Linked DNA regions of Homo sapiens: region 1 is linked to region 2. Evidence: promoter capture Hi-C in 16 types of primary human blood cells and fetal thymus (Javierre and others, 2016). All regions are on one chromosome and are shown on one strand. Each heading gives the region's core, a stretch centred on a gene start or on the middle of the fragment in contact. The rest is flanking DNA. Distances are from core to core; before and after follow the strand shown.

The links. The method cuts DNA at HindIII sites, captures the fragments that hold promoters and counts their contacts. A CHiCAGO score of 5 or more calls a contact.
Region 1: a fragment that was not itself captured here is called in contact with the fragment with the promoter of AQP7 in region 2 in 1 of 17 cell types (erythroblasts); the score reaches 5.1 in erythroblasts.

The regions. Positions count from the first base shown.
Region 1 is chr9:33,633,425-33,640,548 of GRCh38, reverse strand. It overlaps the pseudogene TRBV22OR9-2 and the pseudogene TRBV23OR9-2. Among named protein-coding and RNA genes, the nearest start is that of PTENP1-AS, 40 kb to the left of the region's middle. The HindIII fragment of the contact is 253 bases long and covers 2,406-2,658 here.
Region 2 is chr9:33,400,345-33,407,231 of GRCh38, reverse strand. AQP7 (aquaporin 7) reads left to right here and starts at 4,664. Exons shown (of 8, transcript NM_001170.3): 1 at 4,664-4,859; 2 at 5,945-5,995. The coding sequence starts at 5,970. It overlaps LOC105376020 (a long non-coding RNA gene), which reads right to left and starts at 5,711. Exons shown (of 3, transcript NR_188543.1): 1 at 5,410-5,711; 2 at 5,084-5,324. RefSeq lists an enhancer at 2,339-2,896 and a silencer at 5,447-5,741. The HindIII fragment of the contact is 7,387 bases long and covers 2,727-6,887 here.

The DNA of each region.
Region 1 (7,124 bases), core at 1,283-3,782, 240 kb before region 2:
GTTTTTCATGAAAGTAATCTATATTTTGTCATCCTTATACACATTACTTGAAATACATTTTTATGGTTCTTTTTACTCTTCTCCCTTTCCCCAGAAATCAAAATTCAATGTAGTGTAGCTGAAAGTTTCTCAGTGCCTATATGTCTCAGTGAATGGGAGTTGCTTTGCAAGCATTTGCGGAATCAAAATGGATCAGCTGTCATATCAAGAGCTCAAGGAGATTGGTGTTTGCAGTGGATGGAATTTGGCCCTAAAAGAGATAATGTGTGGGCAAGTATTAAGTCTTCCAAAAAGATGTGTGAAGTTTTTCTGTCCTTTGCTATAATCAGACAGCATAATCTACTTAGAGCAATGAAAATTAATTTGAATCAGATTTACCCCAGATTGTAAAAAAGCACAGCTAAATGAAGTGAAGCATTTTTTTCAGCAGTTCTGGATGGAAAGGGATGTCGATGGGTGACAGTAGTTTGGGGACAGCCATGGCTGGTAACTTTTCTATGCTGCTTAAAGACATGAGTAATAATGGAAGAGACAGCATGTTGAGCACTCAGCAGAGTGGAAGTGAAAGATAGAAGTCTCATTCACATAATGGAGATAACACGCATGCACCTACTAAGGTAAGAGACCACCTGGCTCCTCCCACATCTACTAATTCTTTGAAGTCTGGGACAGGGGTGGTGCCATATTGGGTGGTGGTATTTCCAGTGCCTAAAATTTCAAAAAGGAGACTAATATCTTGTATATCTTAGGACTTCCTACAAATTGTTGAGGAAAATATAGAACTCTCAATAGAGAATTTTGCCTGAGGATATGGATAGGCCATTTTGAGAACAGAAATCCAGGACCACTATCACATGAAGAAGTGCTCAAATTCATTAGTAGTTAGAAAAATGCAAGGGAAAGAAAAGGAGGGAGAGAACATTATTCAGCTTTCTAGATTGTTGCCACCTATTATTATAGTAGTATAAAGTAATCTCTCAGTTCCTTTAAATTATTGGTTTTATTTAGTTTTAAAAGAATTGTCACCTGTTTCTTTATGGTAAACACTGATGATATTCTGGTGTTGGGTGAGCAGGGCTGAGGGGATGGAGAGAGAGGGAGATTGGAACCTCTTTACATCGCTATACTGATAACAATCTAGATCACTGGATAAGGATTAAAGGAGGTATTAGGATGTAGGAAAACACCCTATTCACTTTTATGTGGGATTGCAGATGTATACGGTGATCCTGAAGAACCTGTGGTGGCATTTAGATAGATAAAATATGCATAGAATTACATGTCTCAGCAATCACAACTTGTTCTTGGTATATAATCCTATAAAGCAATCATACAAGTCTATGAAGGTATTTGTACAATAATTTTCAATTCTGGCCGGAAACCAGAGAAAATCTGGGTATGTATTTCTGAAGAAATGGGTATGAGTACTCTCTATCATACAGAACCAACAGACCGAATGTACATACTGAAAAACAGAGCATTTCCCTTGCTTGAGCTGAGTGGAAAAGTAACGTTTATGTGATTTTAAATACATACATACATGCCTACTGCTGAGTGCTCTATGAGAAGGTTCATGGCTGGATCATGACGGATCTGTTTTTTTCTCCTGGGATTTTGAACTCAGGCTTAGAAAGAGCTGGGGTGGTATTTGTCACTGTAGGGAAATTATGGCAACTGAATTTGTAATCTTTAGTGACCATCTCATTCTCACCACGAGGCCTGGAGAAAAAGGGATGGTGTACAGGGAGAGAAAAGCATGCAGCTGCAAAACTGAATAAAAATCAGAGCTGGAGAGATAGTCATTCTAGAGCCTGGCCCTAGTGGTGCCTTTTCAGAACTGTCTGTCCTTTTCAGAACTGTCTGTCCATCACCTCTTGACTTCTGCTAAACACCCTTTATCCTTGTGTTAAATTCCACTGTGGCTTAAGCTGGCTCCAGTTATTTTCTGTTACTCCCTTCCAACCTAATACATCACCTGCTTCCTGAGCTGGGTCTGTGGCAAGTTTGTGTGCTAACAGGAACTGACATTTCAGTGCTGTGGACGGACTGGTGGCACAGAGATACAGTGCGGTGTCTCCCGGTTCCGAGGACAGGATTGCCAGGCTGCAGGGTGGGTTCTTGGGGCATTGAGATGAGAATCGCTTCTTGTGCATCTCCATTTCTTGAAGAACTTGTTCATTCTGAAAGGAAATCAAAAACATAAACTCTTTATTCTGATTCTGCTGATACCAACAAACAAAAGTATGTCCGTTTTTGGGGGTACAATACATCTTTGTTTTCCTTCCTTTTCCTTTGACCAAATATCCTGGAGTCTGTGTGACTTTGGCATGAAAACAGCCTGTAAGAGAAAGAAACAGATGCTGTAGACAGAGTCCAGGAAAGACCTTAACAACAACAGCAAAGCTTGGATCTGGGGGTTGGCCAGCCCAGGACAAGGGTTTTTATTCTGTGCTCAGAGCTCACCTGCTGCCAGGAGACAAAGAGCTACCCAGCCGAGAAGCCTGGTGCCCGTGGTCGCATTGACGTCGCAAAGGGATGAGGCTTTTTCATCCCCGTCTGCACCTTCTTGTGACGTGATTGCTCCACAGATTCATAATCATCTTGTTACTGCTTCATGTTTCTGAGCAAAAACACTTCATGGTATCGGGAAAAAAAGCTTTTATTCCTAACTCAGTAAATATAACTAAGTTATTTTGTATTCATTTAAAATATTGTATGTCTATTTTTGCTAATATAAGCAAAGCACTGATATTTTAGAAAGTTAGAAAATAAAATAACAAAATAAAAATATACCACTGCCAGAAAGCAATTATCACTGTTAACACATTAGTGAGAGTCTTTCTAGATCCTTCTCTCCCCATATATAAATGTGTAGATATATAGACACATTATTTTTTATTATAAACAATATTCTTGAAATTCTGTTTGATAAGCTTTTTTTTTCAGTTAATGATCATCATCCTTTCTCATCAATGCAGTTTCATCTTATCTGCTATTTAGTTTTTATGCAGAGTTTTACAGTTGTTTCAAAAATGTCCTTTGCCATTAATTTGAGCATCAGTTTCTAACTCACGACTAGACATTTCTTCTGGCTATTAATTATCTAATTATCTTTTAGTATAATATAGATCTCTATTGTAATTGCTATTTTTATGATTCTGAAACTAGCCACTGCTTTGAAAAATACTTCACCTTTTAGCTCTTTTTGGTGTATTTTAGCTTGTTCATTTACTAGTGTTTCTTTTAGATAACCTCCCTTTTTTGCTTTTCTTTCTGTAACTATTTATTTTAAATAGTGCATTTTTGGTGATTTATTTATTTTTTTACTTTTTTCTTCCTCCATCTCATCCTCATTTCAGGTAAGTAATGTTAACAGTTTAATGTATATCTTTCCATAGATTTCTCCTTACTTATTTAATTGTTCAGTGAGGTTGTTTCCTCCACATTACAAGATTGTCTTTGAATATATAGACAATAACTTGATAACATACCAACAAAATGACCACTTAAAAAAACAACTTGGCACAGGAAATAAAATATTACCAGAATATTTGAAAGCACTCATTTCTTTTCCCAGATCCCATGCCTCTGTTCTCTAACTCTACTGAGGTGTTTGCTTTTATATTTATTTGCTTCTCTTTCATATTTTAACACATAGGTACATAAGCAAACAAAAGTGTTTAGTTTTACATGCTTCCAAACTTTATACAAATGAGACAATACTGTACCTTTCTTCTGTAATGTAATTTTTCTTCAAATTTGTGAAATTCAGTCATGTTTGTGTGTTTAGTTTTAGTTCATGAATTTTTACTGCTGTGTAATTTCTTTATAATAATAAACCATAATTTATTTACTCTTCTGTTAAGTTACATTTGGATATTGTATGCATTTTTGCTATTACAGATGTATTACAGTGAATATCCTTGTCCTGATTTTCACAGAAGTGTTTCTCTAGAAAAGCCTTTCTCAAGGGTGGAATTGATGGACAGTGGGTACACACATCTTGAACTTTACTAGGTAATGCCAAATTGTTTTCCAACTTAGATCTACCAATATACACTCTAGCCAGTGATTCAGAGAATTCTTGTTGACACTTTTGCCTTGCCAACACTTGATAGATTACTATTTTTACCATCGTAGAGATTCTTGTGGGTATATATTTCGTTGGACTCAATTTCCATTTCCCTGATTATTAAATTTAGCAACATTTACATGTTTAATGACCAGTGAGATTTTGCTGGGAGCTTATGGTTTTCACTCACTTTTTCTATTGACAGTTACCTTTTTCTCATTGATCTGGAGAAAAATTAGTTTCTAGGTTTTTAAAAAATAAATTATATATACTAGCTTTTCTTGAATATATAAATATAGATAGGGATATTAATTTGGTATAAATATATAGATATTTAATGATATGTCACTATACAGTCAATCTTGTCACTCTTATATAATTAACTTTGATAAATTCAATATCAGTTTTTATATAGCCATTTTTATCAATCGGTTCCCTACTGATTGAGGGAATAAGAAATCTTTCCCTGCTTTAAGGCCATGAAGATGTCCTTTTATATTATACAGTATTCTAGAAGCCTTGTGATTTTATTACAATTATGCTTTTAATATAGCTGGGATTGATTTTGGCTATGTATTGAGATGTGTCCAATTGCACTTGTTTTCCTTTATATAGATACCCAATTTTCCCATCACCATTTGTTGAAAAATGTATTCTTTGATTATTGCAGTACCATTGCTGTGTGTTTATGCACATGTATTTTTTTCCTTGGATCTATTTATATATCAATGCCCCTATATTATACCACTTTTATTATTGTGGTTTTATAATAATTCTCTTATAATAATTCTTCATGTCTGTTAGATTTAGTCCTCTCACTTGGAGCTTCTACTTCAGTGCCTCAGCTATTCTTTTATCCTTTGCAGCTATTCTTTTATCCTATCCTTTATCCACTGGTAGGCAGACTCATGCAACTTCATTCATGGAGGTTTTTCATTTCCTACTTTGGTGATTTCTTGGAATCTTAGCTAAGTCTTATGTCTTTCCAAATGGAACCTCAATGGAAAAGGTTCTGTTCACCTCAGTAAACTAACATATAACATTTTACCGACTATTCCCTGTTACCCAAGAAGTGTTTGTGGCTTCTTCTGCCTGGGTTACCTTTATTTTTTTCCCTAATTTTCTTAGAAATATCAGACAAAACAAAACTCTCACTCTCTCTCTTTCCCTCTTTTGTTTTTACATCCCATGTTCTAATCACTCCTCACTCTCAGGCTTCTTTATTCTCCATAAGGAACCAGAATACTACAGTCTTAATTCCCATGCATTTTATCTCTGTGATCTAAATCTATATTTGGGTGGAATTTTCTGTCCCCACAGTTCAATTATTGACATGCTGTAATCTGCAGAATCTCAACCTCTAGTCCAGCTTTATGGCATCTCAATTTCACATCTTGTCTATGCAGTTGCGTACTTCTAGTTTTTATCTGATTGTTCCATAGACAGTTGAACCCTATTATCCCAAATGGGAACTGCTACTGCTAACGTGATTTCATATTGTTTGAAATTGTGCCCTTTGTAAATGATCAAAGTTATATGAGGAAAATTGAAAAATTGTATCATTTGCTTGTTTGCTGATAACAAGCTTCAGCTCTCTCTTTTGAGCAACAGCCTACAAAGGACTTTCATACTTATTATATTCATGGAACCAAAAACTCAACTTTTTCAAAAACTCCTTTCTACTTCCTCAGATATATTCCATTTCTTTTGATTCATATACATTGATCATCATCTTTCTCTTTGTAAACTGTTCCCCAAAGTGTCAAACTCTTTAATATGCCTTTGCAAAAGTTGTTCTCTTTGCCTGGAATGCTCTACTCAGAACCAGGTCTATCTGGTGAGGTTCTAATGGGACTTCCTCTTTGCTTTTTCTCATTCAATCAAACAGAATTGTGCATGTCCTCCCTGAAGCTCCCAAATGACTTCTGATTGTAGTATTATATATGATATTTTCCGTTCTATTATAATTACTTTCTTGCTAGACTCTTAGCTCCTTGGATAAAGGATCTATTTTCTTTTCAGTTTTGTATCCTTTGTGTTTGCAAAAGTAACAGGACATAGGAAAATCTCAAGAAAATATTAAAAATGAAAAAATTAAACTAGAGGATGTGGTGGGGACTACAGGGCTAGGACACATTTCCGCACAGAGAGACAATGGCTGTGCTTCCACTGTGGTGCACTCCCAGGACAGAAGTACAGAGCTGTTTGGCTGGTGTGGGCCAGCTTCACCATGAGAAGAAACAGCCCCTTCTCCTCTCGGGAGACACCGTAGCCTTCAGTTAGGTCTCCTCTCTGAATATCCTTTTCAACCCTTGAGTAATAGATCAGTCTCAGATTTTGCTTTGGGTCCTGCCAGTACCAGTACCAGTACATGTCATTGTGTCTCAAATTGTTTCTACTCCAGGGTCACATCCCATCCAGCCCCAGTGAGCTGGAATGGCGTCTGATAGATGTCAGCATCCAAGGGTCCAAGAGACAAAGGCTAGAGATCATGCCCAGAAGGGAGGTGCTGGCCGGGGAGGGGCCTGGCAAGCCCAGGATAGGAATTGACCAACTGGATGTGTGCTGAGCTCACCTGCTCCCAGGAGACACAGGGTCACATAGCAGAGGACACAGCTGCCCATGGCAGCGATGAAGTCTCTCTGAAGTTACAGACACAGGCTCTGAGAGAGAGAGAGGCTGAGATCTAGCCCCTCCCCAGGGCTTAATATAAAGAATTTGTCATTGCTACATGATGACTGATTGTCACAGCTGATTTTGCAGATGGTGAGACTAAGAATTAGAGAGATCAAGTCACATGCACCTCCTCTTCTGCTTATAGAAGCTTTTTATATCCCTTCTAAATGGACAAGTGCCTGCCTGCATGGTCAGAAGAGCCAATCCCTCATTTCCTGGTCAGAGTCATACACAGAGTGCCATGCACCTGTGCTCAACTCAACACAAGAAGGGGTTTGGAAGTTTAGTTTTTTGTGGTTGTTTTTTTTTAAAGAACCAATTCTCGACACTCTCTGTATTTACTATAAATAATTAATACAGTAGAGATGGGGTAGGC
Region 2 (6,887 bases), core at 3,415-5,914:
TACTAGAAAGTGACAAGTCTGAGCTCAATCCCTGGTTTCAGATGCCAAGTTAGGCAGCTCCATATAGGCTCTTTTAGGATGGAGTAGGCCTAGGTTGGAATTCTGGGTTCTCGACTTCAGGGGATCTTTGCCCTTGGACAAGTGGCTGTGCCTGATCCTGTCTGCCTTGGTCTCCATCTGCTCTGTCCTGAAGGCCCATGGATGATTCTGAGAAGGATGAGAGCCTGGGCGGGGGGCGAGGGGGAGTTCTGGTAATTGGTGGGTGTGAGAGTTAAAGACCTTCCTGGGTCCTGCCTCTGCCCTTGCCCCTCCCCAGCCTCGCCGCCTAGTAGGGGAACCCTGGTCTCCTTGGGGTGAGCCAGAGCCCTGGTCTGGATGTTCTAGTTCTAGGTGATCTTGGGCAAGTTGTTACCTTGCTCTGAATCTGTTTTCCTACCTGAAAAATGAGTTTGGAAGGAGATGCTTACTTGGGTGGGGCTTAAGTGTCTTTTCTTTTTGGGGCATTCTGAGAACCTTCATGGCTTCAGATGATTCGAGAGAGACCAGGGCTCCTTGAGGGACCTGCCCTGCCCTCCTACCCCCACCCCTGCGCCTGGAACCAGAGTGGCTCCTTCCTTGCTTGTTTATACCATGGGCTCCTGAGTTATGCAAAGGATTCCGTGGCTCGAAAGAGTCGGAAAAACCACAAGTGTAAAGCAGCGTGATGAAAAGCAGTTTTTGTGATAAGTTAATCCAATGGCATGTTGATTGAAACAAATAATTAATCAAAATGTTTAGTTTTTGTGCGTGTGTCAACACTTTGGGGGACATTCGGGGACAGTTTTTAGCACCTTTAGTCATTTTTGTTTCTTCATTCTGATATTTTAAAATTTCGATTTGCATTTTCATCCTTAATTGAGTTTCAGCCAATTGTGTTTATCCCATGTTGTTCACAATAGAGAAGTGTTGGGTCCATTTAAAATTGGAGACAATCTAAACGCTCATCAATAGAAGGATTCCTTATTATATAATCTCCATCAGGTGGAATGCTGTACAACAGGCATGAGGTGGACATGGACCTACTGTCATAGAAAGATATTCTTAACAAATGTTTGAATGAAAAAAGTATTTTAGACCAAGTGCGGTGGCTCACGCCTGTAATCCCAGCACTCTGGGAGCCCGAGGCGGGTGGATCACCTGAGATCAGAAGTTTGAGACCAGCCTAGCCAACATGGTGAAACCCCATCTCTACTAAAAATACAAAAATTAGCTGGGTGTAGTGGCTCATGCCTGTAGTCCCAGCTACTCGGGAGGCTGAGGCAAGAGAATCACTCGAATCCGGGAAGTGGAGGTGGCAGTGAGCCAAGATTGTACCACTGCACTCCAGCCTGGGTGACAACAGCGAAACTCTGGCTCAAAAGATAAAATAAAATAAAAAAGTATTTTGTTTTATTTTTATATATTTATTTATTTTGAGACAGAGTCTTACTCTATCACCCATGGTGGAGTGCAGTGGTGCCATCTCAGCTCACTGCAACCTCTGCCTCCTGGGTTCAAGTAATTCTCCTGTCTCAGCCTCTTGAGTAGCTGGGATTACAGGCACCTGCCACCATACCTGGCTAATTTTTGTATTCTTAGTAGAGACGGGGTTTCACCATGTTGGCCAGGCTGGTCTCGAACTCCTGATCTCAGGTGATCCACCAACCTCAGCCTCCCAAAGTGTTGGGATTACAGGAGTGAGCCAATGCACCTGGCTATATTTTTATTTGCTAAAAATAAAACTCTGTGTGTGTGTGTGTGTGTGTGTGTGTGTGTGTGTGTGTGTGTGTGTGTGTAGGTCCTGGACAGTCACAGTTTAAGCATCAAGAGGGCCTGAGTTTAGACCAAAGGTATACCAGGTATAAGGTTGTGGCAAATATTGTTTCTTTGAAATTTAAATTTAACTGGGCATCTTATATTTTATCTGGTAACTCTACTCAAGCCCATCCTATGAAGAAAGGACCCCGGGTGTCCCCTCCCTCTCTGCCCCCCAACTATCTCCACTGGCTCAGAGACCCAGAGACCCCCCGCCGCAGGCTCTGTGCAGACTAACATGCTTCACAGCTCTGACCCAAACTCCCACCTTGGTGGCCCCTTTAGCTGCCTCTCTTCTCTCTGCAGTTGAACTTTCTGCCTCCTCAGCCTCTGCTTCTTCAGTGCTGTTGCCACCCTCTATCCCCACCAGCTCATCCAGGCAGCTGTCTGCAAACACCTGCCTGGCCAGCCCCTCCCAGCACCCAACTCTGGGGCAACAGCCCCCTACTGGCTCCCATCAGCCTCTGGGCAGCCCTGTGTCTGGGTTTCCAGCTCCTTCCACACCCACTCCTTCTTCGTCATCCTTCTTCCCCAGAATCCTGGCCCTGGCCCTTGCCTCACTCCCTGTGCTTCTTGGGCAGCCCCAGCAACTCTAGTGCTGAATGTCCAGGGGCTGATATCTCCTCTTCTCTTTCTCCAGCTAGACTCCTCTCCCCAGCCCAGGCCCAACTGCGCCTCTGCCTGCTGGATGCCCTGGGGCCTCAGGGACCTCAGGTTGACCCTGTTGCTCTTCTCTTTGTTTAGAACCCTTTGCAGGCTCCTCAGGCCCTCGGGTTAAAGTCAGAACTCCTTGGCCTGGCTGACAAAGCCCTTCATGGTCTATCCCTGCCCACTTCCGCAGCCCTCTGCAAGTCACTCGCAGTTCCCAGGTTTTCTCACAATCCCATCAAGCTTCAAATGCCCCGGTGCCCCATCCCCCTGCTCGTTTTGGAAAACTCAGTTCCCACGTCACCTCTAACGGAAGACCCTTGTACCCCTCCAGCTTGGGATAGCCCCGTCTGTATTCCTTCCAGCCTATCTGGTGTGTCCTAAGTCACCTGCTGCTTACCTGTCTCTGCCGTGAGACAGATGGGACTGTGTCTTCTCCACCTCTCAGTCCCCAGGGTCAAGCCCTGTAAAAGAGCTTAGAGCCTGATCTCTGACCCCAGCATGGATCCCAATTCCCTCCCTCACCAACCTGACACCAGCCCATTCCAACTCTGCCCAAGTGCTGACCTCATCCAAGACCCCAGATCCACTTCTAACATGACCTCATCCCGGCCCTGGGAGCACACATGGGAAAGGAAAAAAGGCAGGACTCTCCCATTTCCAAGCGTGCACCCCTCCCTTCCTGAGGAAGAAAGGCTGAATCTTGAGCCCACGTAGAATCTGCAGAGGGAGGCCGGGCGCAGTGGCTCACACCTATAATCCCAGCACTTTGGGAGGCCGAGGCGGGTGCATTACCTGAGGTCAGGAGTTCGAGACCAGCCTGACCAACATGGTGACACCCCGTCTTTACTAAAAATCCAAAAAAACTAGCTGGGCTTGGTGGTGCATGCCTGTAATCCCAGCTACTTGGGAGGCTGAGGCAGGAGAATCACTTGAACTGGGAGGCAGAGATTGTGGTGAGACAAGACTGTGCCACTGCACTCCAGCCTGGGCGGAGCGGGACTCCGTCTCAAAAAAAAAAGAATCTGCAGAGGGAAGTTAGTGCCTTACAGAGGGCTTCTGACTAGGAAGCCCCGGGACTGTGGCCGACCCCTTCCTCTCCCTGCCTCACCCCTGCAGAAAGATCTGCAGAAAAAGCTGGAAGGGGTGGGAGGGTGTGTGCAGGGGTGGGGACTGGGGCTATGCAGGTTCCAGACCTGGTCTTTGGCACCCTCTACAGGACAGTTCCATTCCCAGACCTGAGCTTTGGACAACTGAATCTTATGCCCCTTCCCACCCATGGAGCCTGGTGCCGGAAGTTCCCAGGACTTACCCACCGTCCACCACGCCACATAGCAAGCGTCCTCAGTGTCTGCAGACCAGAAACACCTCCCTTGTGTCTCAGCACTGGGCCACCTGCTGAAACCCCAAACTGCCTGCCCCATTGTTTGAGACCCAGTCAGGCCTTGGCTCCAAAAGTCCTCTGGGACTGCTGCTGGCCCCCAGGGTCTCTCCTGACTGCACCTCGGTCCCGGAGCTCCCACACCGCTGAGCCCCGAGCCCGATGTCCCGATCCAGCTCTGGGTCCTTTACGGGGGCCTTGCTGGCCTTTCCTAAGGGAGGTGTTTTCCCGAGGACAGGTGGACTGCTCCTCAGACTAGGGGCCCTCGGAGGGCCAGGCCTGGGCTTCTACCTCCTCTCGCAGGCTGGTGTTTCTCTGCAAATATGGCTCGTGTGTCCTCCTTCCTCTCAGACTGGGGGCCCCTGAGGACTGGGCCTGAGTTTCCCTTTCCCCCTTCACAATGGGGGTTCCCTGAGGACTGACCCAGGGCCTCCCCCGTCCCCTCCACCTGGCTGTTAATCTCCAACACTTCCACCTCCAGTCCTATTCTGCACAGCTCTCCCCAGCGCTGGGGGCTCAGAGGCCTCTTCAGCCTTCCCCAGGGCTGGGGCTCAGGGAGGGCTTCCTCAGGCGCTGGCCCCAGAGTCAGGCTGCACATTGGCTTGGAGGACAGGCCTTTCCTCTGGGACTGAGAGGCCCAGAGTGCCCACCCAGAGCTCCACCTCTGACCTCACAAAGGCCTGCTTCAGAACTCGGTCTCCACGGCACTGCTGGCCGGACGAGGGATGTTATTTTGGGCAGTGCATCTGGACTTGGTTCAAGTGGCACCAGCCAAACCCCTGCCTTACTGACCTCTCCCCTGGAGGAGCAGGAGCAGCGCTCGAGGCCGCCCTGGGAGAGCTGAGAGGCAGGCTCTGGACTGGGGACACAGGGATAGCTGAGCCCCAGCTGGGGGTGGAAGCTGAGCCAGGGACAGTCACGGAGGAACAAGATCAAGATGCGCTGTAACTGAGAAGCCCCCAAGGCGGAGGCTGAGAATCAGAGACATTTCAGCAGAGTGAGTGGGGCTCCAGGCAGGGTGGGGATGGGGCAGCCTCCTCAGCGCCCAGATCTGGAAGGGCCATTCCCTGGGTACCATACAGGGAGGAGGTGACTGAGGGATTGTTTGGGGAAGGAGCCCCGTCTGGGAGTGGAAGTCCCGGCTTTCTTGTTATGGTGCAGTCCTGTGTTGCTGTGTGACACAGGCACATACACCCTCTCTCTGGGCCTCAGTTTCCTTACCTGTAAGTTGGTTGTTGGGAGGACCAGCGGTAGAGCAGAGATGGCAGGGATGCACTGAGCTGGGCTGTCAGCAGACCATGGGGGTGGGACGAGGAGAGAGCTGAAGACCACCGGCAGTGGACCACAGCGGGAGGCGTGCAGGCAGGAGACGGGTCAGCTGCCGGCTTGCTGGAGTCATTCCTCCCACGCAGTCCCCTCCTGAGGGGCTGGAGCTGGGGCTGGAGGGTTTCGGCAGTCAGGGCTGGAGATAAGAGTCTGTGCTGGAGCTAGAGGGAACTGGGCTAGAGAATCAGGAGGACAGACAGGGTGAGGGGACTTCGGGCTACCTTCATGCTGTCAGTTAGAGATAAAGATAGGAGTACAAAGGGGAATTTTTGGGTGAGGTACACGGGTGAAATGAGTTTTCAGGGCCTCATCCTGTGTGTTCACCTTCTGTGTGTGTGTGTGTGCATGCGTGCATGTGTGTGTGTGTGCAGGTCCTGGACAGTCGCAGCTTAAGTTAGCAGCAAGAGGACTTGAGGTTAAAGGTATAGCACGCAAATATGAGGCTGGAGCCACTGAGTAGAGGCTGAGGGCATCTCCACAGTCCAAAGCCGGGCTGCAGACACGGAAGGTCAGCAGGAGCACTGGAGGGTCTGGCCTGGGGCTGGGGTCCTGGGGCCAGCATGGGTGGGGTGGGGCTCCAGGGCGTCGCCTCATTGGCTGAGCACCGCTCCTCCCTCCCTGTTCCTTGGCTGGGTTAAGGGAGTGGCACTAGCAGGAGCTGCCCCAGGGCTTCTCCCCTGGGGACCAAGGTCTGATGGAAGTGTGGGGCCAAGTTCTGTGTCCTCCAGCCCTAGTGACCTCTCTTTGGCTCCTCAGCATCTACAAATCTGAAAGACAAAACATGGTTCAAGCATCCGGGCACAGGCGGTAAGTACCCCACCCTCTTCTCACCCTCCAGCCCCCTGTCCTTCACCCAGCCCACTTCAGTGCCCTCCCTGTTCCATCCTCAGCCTCTCCCTTGGGGCAGCTGTCCCCACTCGACCTCCTCCTCCCCACCCACCCACTCGCCTCTGAGGTCCCAGAAGAAGAGCATCTTCCACCTGTTGCCTGGGCTGGGTCCTGGGGTGAGGGGAGGCTCAGAAATACTTGGATGAGGGTCAAGGCATGCAGGTGGCCTTCAACTCAACTGCACTCAGCACCTCTCACCCTCTCAGGCTCAGCTGTCTTTGGGGTGAACAAGAGCCAGTCCTTGCAATGGCCAAGGCCCAGCCTTGTTAGCTTTCTGGCCTCCCCACTCCAGCCCCCTGCTCTCCCTCCTCCAGCCACACTGAGTTTCTTTTCAGGTTTTTTTTTTTTTCCGAGATGGAATCCAGTTCTGTCGCCCAGGCTGGAGTGCAATGGCATGATCTTGGCTCACTGCAACCTCCTCCTCCCGGGTTCAAGCGATTCTCTTGCCTCAGCCTCCTGAGTAGCTGTGATTACAGGATTACAAGCACACACTACCACACCCAGCTAATTATTATTATTATTATTTTGGTATTTTTAGTAGAAATGGGGTTTCGCCATGTTCGCCAGGCTGTTCTTGAACTCCTGACCTCAGGTGATCCACCCGCCTTGGCCTCCCAAAAGGTTGGGATTACAGGTGTGAGCCACTGCACCTGGCCTCACACTGACTTTCTTTGCTTTCTTCAAACATGCTGAGAGTCCTCTGGTGACTAGTCTCCCTCCACCTGAGAGGCTTTCTGCAGCTAACATACAGCCCACTCTCGTCTCCTTCATGGCTTTGCTCCAAGGCCACCTTCTCAACAAGGATTACTCT